2 separate regions of the Homo sapiens genome follow, and region 2 is linked to region 1. Evidence: promoter capture Hi-C in 16 types of primary human blood cells and fetal thymus (Javierre and others, 2016). All regions are on one chromosome and are shown on one strand. The core of a region is centred on a gene start or on the middle of the fragment in contact, and the rest is flanking DNA. Distances in the headings are between cores, read along the strand shown.

What was found. The method cuts DNA at HindIII sites, captures the fragments that hold promoters and counts their contacts. A CHiCAGO score of 5 or more calls a contact.
Region 2: a contact is called between a fragment that was not itself captured here and the fragment with the promoter of TGM1 in region 1, in 2 of 17 cell types (naive CD8 T cells and total CD8 T cells). The highest score is 5.5, in naive CD8 T cells.

The regions. Positions count from the first base shown.
Region 1 is chr14:24,261,370-24,264,855 of GRCh38, forward strand. TGM1 (transglutaminase 1) reads right to left here and starts at 1,808. Exons shown (of 15, transcript NM_000359.3): 1 at 1,720-1,808; 2 at 665-985; 3 at 326-514. The coding sequence starts at 983. RefSeq lists promoters at 983-3,486, 983-2,736, 991-1,186, 1,747-3,413, 1,796-3,486 and an enhancer at 2,283-2,291. The HindIII fragment of the contact is 953 bases long and covers 1,168-2,120 here.
Region 2 is chr14:24,387,460-24,390,945 of GRCh38, forward strand. LOC124903292 (a long non-coding RNA gene) reads right to left here and starts at 1,950. Exons shown (of 3, transcript XR_007064086.1): 1 at 1,686-1,950. The HindIII fragment of the contact is 9,848 bases long and covers 1-3,486 here.

The DNA of each region.
Region 1 (3,486 bases), core at 558-3,057:
AACCAGCCACATCCTGGGGAATGAGAACAGATGCACAAAGGACAGAGCAGCAATGCCGAAGGAGGCACCGAGGCAGGCCCTGAAGAGGAGTACTCTGAGACCGATGCCCCAGGAGGCTTGAGGAGGATGGGCTTGGGAAAAACTGCAACACCAAGACCCTCTCTGAGACACAACCCCAGGGGCACACCCACACACTTGCACCTGCCTTATCTGGCAGAGGTGAGGAGTGGGGCAGGGAGGAGCCTAAAGACCTCTCTGACCCTAATGCCAGCCTCTCCCCACCAAACATAGGGCCTTCACCCGTCCCAATCCAAGCCCCACTGACCGATGAGTAACTCAAGGGTGATGCGATCAGAGGATTCATAGGTCCGGGACAGGAGGAGGAGCATATGGAAAGGCTGCCCGCGGCGCACTATCAGCTCGTCGTACTCATACTCGTCTGTGTGGTGCTCTCGGCGGTTCTGGTCCGAGCGCGAGCTCAGCAAGTCCACACCGTTCACTACTAGCATGCCCTCTGCAAGGACACAGCTCCGTGTCAGTGAAGCCCCATGAGGAGCCCAGGCCCTTATCATTAGCTTCCTATCCCCCCCAGAAATGCCAGGCTGAGTCTCTGGTCCCATTAAAGCCTTTTAGCTCTCAGCTGAGGAGGACAGACCGGCCTCACCTCGGATGGTGCCATCTCCAGCTGCATTGACACCGCTGCCCCGGGATACAGGCCGGCGGGAGTCTGAGCCCCGGGAGCCAGGTCTTCGAGTGCCAGAGCTGGACCCTCGACCCCTGGAGTCAGAGGGTTCAGGTCCCCAGTCGTCATCTGCCGCATTTCGGCATGAACAGCAGCCACAGCAGCGAGCCCAGAAGGAACGGCCTCCTCCTCTGCGAGAGCGTCCGTCTGGCTCTGGCTCTGGCTCTGGAGATGGCGTGGTAGGGGGCTGCAAGGGGTTGCCACCCCAACGGCCCACATCGGAACGTGGCCCATCCATCATGCCTGTTAGGAAGAGGCAGGGTGGCTCCTTAACCCAGGTAGTCCCAGCCAGTTGACCCAGAAACCCTCCATCCAGACAGCTGATTCAGTCCCACCCGATGACCGAAACAATCCCACCTTGGCCCAGAGATTCTCCAGACACATCCAGAGACCTTCCGCGAAGACCATTCAGACTCACCCAGAGAAGCTTCTCATGCTGCAGAGAAAAGCCTTCCCCTCACCCCCACCAAACAACATCCGAAAAACTGCCCAATGAAGAAACCCACTCAACGATCCATCCCAGGAAATCCACATAGTTCCCTGCATGGACACTTGTCCCAGCCTCAAGACCCAGCTGCACACACATCAGAGTGCTCCAGCATCCCTGGGCCTGGTCCGTCCACCTGCTAGCTCTGCAGTCTAGAGGTGCACAACACTGACAGCTTCTAGAACTCATTTCTTAGCAGAAATCCCCCAACTCAAGGTTCCTCACAAGACAGACAAGTGACCCCGGGGCCTGTGGTCCTTGGCATTCCCAAGTCAGGGAAGACCCCACTTGGGGCTGCCAGGAGGGGTAGGGCATGGCAGGTGCCCGGAGCCTGTGCACAGGGAAAGCAGAGTCTTGGTGTTGGGAACAGCCTAGCTGGGGCTGACAGGTACACAGCTGGCCCACACCCCACCTTGCTGGATCCAGGCACGGCCTCTGATAGTGTGGGCCGCCTGGACTCGGCACCACAGTACCCGTGGGAGCCCCTCACCTGGCAGCAGTGTTGGCAACCGCAGTACTGAGTCCTGGGGCTGAGATGGAACAGGTCAGGATGGATGGGACAGGACCCACAGACTGGATGCCGCAGGGACAGACCTGGTAAGTGACTTATGTGGGAGGGAGGGGCCAAACTGCTGTAGGGGGCGGAGAGAAGAGGCCAGGCCTCTGGGCGGGAAATGGGGAGAAGATGCTAGGGAGGGAGCAGGGGTGAGGTCTGGGGGCTTAGGCTGGGCTTTGGTGGGAGCCACCGCTGTGATGGCCCCTGGCACCAGGCTGATTCCTACCAGACTGGGCATGTGAGGAGCCCCTTCTCCCGGATGAAGAAGCTGCAAGGGCAGTGGGGCAGGCAGGCCCTTCCACCCACAGCCCTGTCTGGCCGACCTTCTGGTCCCAAGCTTAGGCTGCCTACCTCTGCTCTCACAGGCTCCTGCTGCCGAGTTCTGTGCAGCCCAAGCCAGGCTCAGCCCTATGAAATTGGCCCAGGGGCCTGGTCCTGGAACTCATCCTGCCCAGGGAGGTCCTGGGATCCCAGGTTGCAGACTGGTGACATCAGCAGCCAGGCCCTCAGACTGGCTCCACCAGCTAACCCCTGACCTGCTGGCTCTACCAGATATTCTGACTCCCTCCACCCCCAAGTCTGTCCCTTCTTTCTCAGCTGCTCTACAGCCCCAGGCATGAGTGAGCTGCCCTCAAGTTTGGGATTAGGGAGATCAGAGTAGGAGCAATCTCATTTCACGTCCCCCACCCCCGCTGTAGCCTCGGGGGTTAGGGGATGTTTAGGCCTTTCCACTCAGGCTTGGGTGGGAACTGAGTCCCCCTTCCAGGGGTACAGAGTACCTTTCTCTCACTGAGAGGAGTCTCTGCTCAGTTGGACTAGAGGATTCCCTTTTCTCCAACCTGGAATTCTTCCTGGGAATCCAGACCAACCGGCTCAGGCACCTGTGCTGTGTGCATCCTTACTCCACCCCGTCACTGGGGAAACACTGAGGATGGCACCAAGGCGATCCCAAGGTAGAGAGGAGGAGGCTAGGCATCTTCAGGGAGGCTCTCCTTGGGTCTTGTCCTCAGGCCCGTCAGCCAGGGCCTTCTTCCTTCTTTCCTTCCTTCCCACTAGTGTCCCAGCTCTGCCCATGGGCCGCCTAGCAGAAGACAGTAAAAACAGGCCGACAAGAAGACACAAGGAAACAGAATCCAGGAGGGGCTGTTTGGTGATGCATCAGGCAGGGAGGTGCCGTGGGGAGTGGGGACAGAGAGGCCCCAGGAACTGGCAGGGAGCCCTCCACACCCACACTGCCTTTTCTTGTCCAGCTCCAAGCACCAGAACCTGCCCGGGGGTGGGGGCAGGTGCCCCACCTCCAACACCCTCAGTAGACACACCAGTGGATATAAACTTCCAGGCAGGTCAGCCAGAGGGCTTTGTGCAGGGGCTGCGGATTTGTGCATCACTGCAGATACGGGAAGGGGCAGGGCCCTGGCTGTCCGGACGTGTGTGAGCACATGTGGGCCCAGGCAGATCCCAGAGAACCAGTAGGATGCCTTTGTCACACTCTCTCCCTAGCTTTAATCAATCTTTCTCTCCCCACCCAGCCAGGTTTGAGTCAGTGCCCTAACCCCTGAGCCAGTCCCCTCCCCCCACCACCACTCAGGACTCTCTAGGTCAGGACAAGGTGTGTACATGGTATGTGTGGGGGGACACCATGGGAGCAGACACTCAGCTCAGGACCTCAAGGAGCTGAGGCCAGGCCGCTGCCCAACCATT
Region 2 (3,486 bases), core at 388-2,887, 130 kb after region 1:
CCAAGACAGAGTAGGTAAATTTCAATTTTATTTTATTTATTTATTTATTTTTTTTTGAGGCAGAGTCTCACTCTGTCACCCAAGCTGGAGTGCGATGGCACGATCTCGGATGACTGCAACCTCTGCCTGCCGGGTTCAAGCAATTCTCCTTCCTCAGCCTTCCTAGTAGCTGGGATTACAGGTGTATGCCACCATGCCTGGCTAATTTTTTTTGGCATTTTTAGTAGAGGTGGGTTTTTGCCATGTTGGCCAGGCTGGTCTTGAACTCCCGACCTCAGGTGATCTGCCCGCCTTGGCCTCCTAAAGTACTGGGATTACAGGCATGAGCCACTGTGCCCAGCCTCAATTTTATCTTGTGTTGTTTTTGTATTATTTTCTCCATCCTCAAAACTCGGACACTTCCTAACTTAGCACCCATTGGCTACTGCTCATAGTCCTGCCTGGTTTGGGGTTTCCCAGTTTGGGGTGGATCTGGCTACACTTCATTTTCTGCCTCCATCGAGACTCCCTATTGTTTCTTTGAGGTTCCATTAGGTCAAGGCAAACACTTCTCTTGTTCTCCCAACATGTAGCAAAATGTCACAATTCTTTTTGGCTCCGTTGTTCATTAGCCACTCCATTTCGTTATTCTATTTGCACTACTTCATCATTGAGCAAACTTTTTTTTTTAATAAGGATTTGTGATGGTTAATTTTATGTGTCAATTTGGCTGGGCTAAGTGATGCCCATAGAGCTGGTAAAATATTATTTCTGGGTACATCTGTGAGAGTGTTTCTGGAAGAGATTAGCATTTGAATTGGTAGACTAAATGAAGATCTTCCCTCATCAATGTGGGTCCACATCACTCAATACATTGAGGGCCTGAGTAGAACAAAAAAGTAGAGGAAGGGCAAATTATCTCTATTTGAGCCCAGTCGTCCATCTTCTTTTACCCTCGGACATCAGAGCTCCAGGTTCTTGAGGGAAGGGCACACATAGATTAGTGTTTTCTGCACAATCAGTTCACTCACTTCTCCTTGTCTGACCCATGAATGTGTCCGTATCTTTTGAGGTTCATTGGTTCAGATGCTACAGACACCACCCTTCCCCAGGCTGCTGAAATGACTTTCAAACTTGGACTGAATTACACTACTGGCTTTCCTTGTTCTCCAGCTTGCAGTCAGCAGATTGTGGGGCTTCCTGACCTCCATAATCACATGAGCCAATTCCCATAATCTCTCTCTCTGTCTCTCTCTCTGTTTCTGCTATTGGTTCTGTTTCTTTGGAGAACCATGACTAACACAGGATTATAGAAACTGCAGGAGAAAATGTTAGTGCCTGTTGGGATTAGAAAGGCACATACGATAAAGCCCTATCCTCAAGGCTGCTGCAGCTGTGATAGGAGCTCCTCTTACAGCTCCATTTATTTGTTCACAAAGGATTTACTATGTGTTAATTATCAGGCAATGGTAGGCACTCAGGATACCAAGATCAACAAGATATGATTCCTGTCCTCAAGCAGTTCACACCTAAGAGATCACTAACTGGTGACTTGAGGCATTTGATTGGCAAGATGCCTTAATTATTTCTCTTTGTTATCTATGGCTGTGTAACAAATCACCCCAACTTAGTGGCTTAAAACCACAATAATTTACTTTTCCTCACAGTTCTGTGGCTTAACCTGGTGATTCTCCTCCTGGTCTCACCTGGGCACACTCATGTGGTTGCATTCAGATGGCAGTTTAGCTAGTTGGTCCTAGACAGCCTCACTCCCAAGTGTGAAGCCTCAGCTGGGGCGGCTGGAATGGCTGAGATGAGTTTCCTTCTGTCTGCCCATGCGACTTCTTTCTGCCGGTATCTCAATTTCCTTCCTTCCGGCTATCCTGGGCCTCTTTACACAAGAACAGAGCATTCCAAGAGGCTCAAAGTCAAAGTTGCAAGACTTTTTGAGGTCTCGACTCAGTGTTACAAATGTTACTCCCACTGCATCTTATTGGCCAACACAAGTCACAAGGCCAGGCTAGAACGGGGAGGAGGGGGAATAGAATTCATCTCTGATGGGGGAGCAGCAATGTCCCATTGTAAAGGGTGGGCAGATAGAGATGGGAGGAATTTGTGGCCATAGGTTGCAGTCTACTACAGCTGCTACAGCGAAACAAAATTAGATTTCACATAAACGTCAAGTTTACAATATTTTTTCCTTAACAATGGGGAGATTTGGCAACAAGCCACTGGAGCTGAGTAACTGCTGTGCCATTTAGACTGGACGTTCTATCTCTAGCCCATCATAGTCTCTACCACTTCTTTTTTAAAGAGTTGGGTTCTTGCTCTGTTGTCCAGGCTGGAGTGCACTGGCATGATCATGGCTCACCGAAGTCTCGACCTCCTGGGCTCAAATGATCCTCCAGCCTCAGCCTTTAGAGTAGCTGGGATTACAGGCACTCACCACTCCAGCTAATTTTTTTTTTTTTGGTAGAGGTGAGTTTTGCTTTGTTGTCCAGGCTGGTCTTGAATTCCTGGCCTCAAGTGATATCCTCCTGCCTCGGCCTCCCCACTACTGCTTTATTTATTTATTTTTTTAGATGGAGTTTTGCTGTGTTGCCCAGGCTGGAGTGCAGAGGTGCGATCTCAGCTCACTGCAACCTCCGCCTCCCGGATTCAAGCGATTCTCCTGCCTCAGCCTCCCGAGTAGCTGGGACTACAGGCATGCGCCACCAGACACAGCTAATTTTGGTATTTTTAGTAGAGACAGGGTTTCACCATGTTGGCCAGGATGGTCTCAGTCTCTTGACCTCCTGATCCGCCCGCCTTGGCCTCCCAAAGTGCTGGGATTACAGGCGTGAGCCCCCGCCCCCACCCCCACCTATCGCTTTTTAAAGGTGAGGAAATTGGGATTTCCAGGGCTAGGATGTAGTAGTCTCTGGGCTACCGATATCAGAGTCTGTTTTTAACTACTGTATTCAACTGCCATCACCAAATGGGTTCTATGGATAATTACATGGGAAACCACTGCTGGGGAGTTACTAGAAAAGTTTGAGTAAGCTCATGCCACAGAGCAAGTGATGCTCTTCAATTAACTAGGAGTCTGGATTCAGAGCCAAATAGGGGTGAGGGAGGCGAATGGTCTGGTGGCTGCTAGATCAGTTTGAAAGTCATTTCAGTAGCCTGGGCCAGGGAGGTGTCTGTAGCATCTGAACCAAATGAAACTCAGAAGATATGGACACATTCTTGGGTCAGACAAGGAGAAATGAGCGAACTGGTTGTGCAGAAAATACTAATCCAAGTGTGCCACTTCCCTCTGAGAAACTTTGTAGGCTCCCTCCTGCCTATACCTGCCAGTCTCAGTGGTAACACATTGTTCTGTTAAAAAAAAGAGGCTGTAATGTAAGCTATGGACTTCGGTTGTTAATGTTGGGTCAATGTTGGTTCCTCTATTCTAACAAAAGTATCACACTGGTGCAGGATGTTGATAGTGGGGGGAGGCTGTGCACATGTGGGCACTGGAGG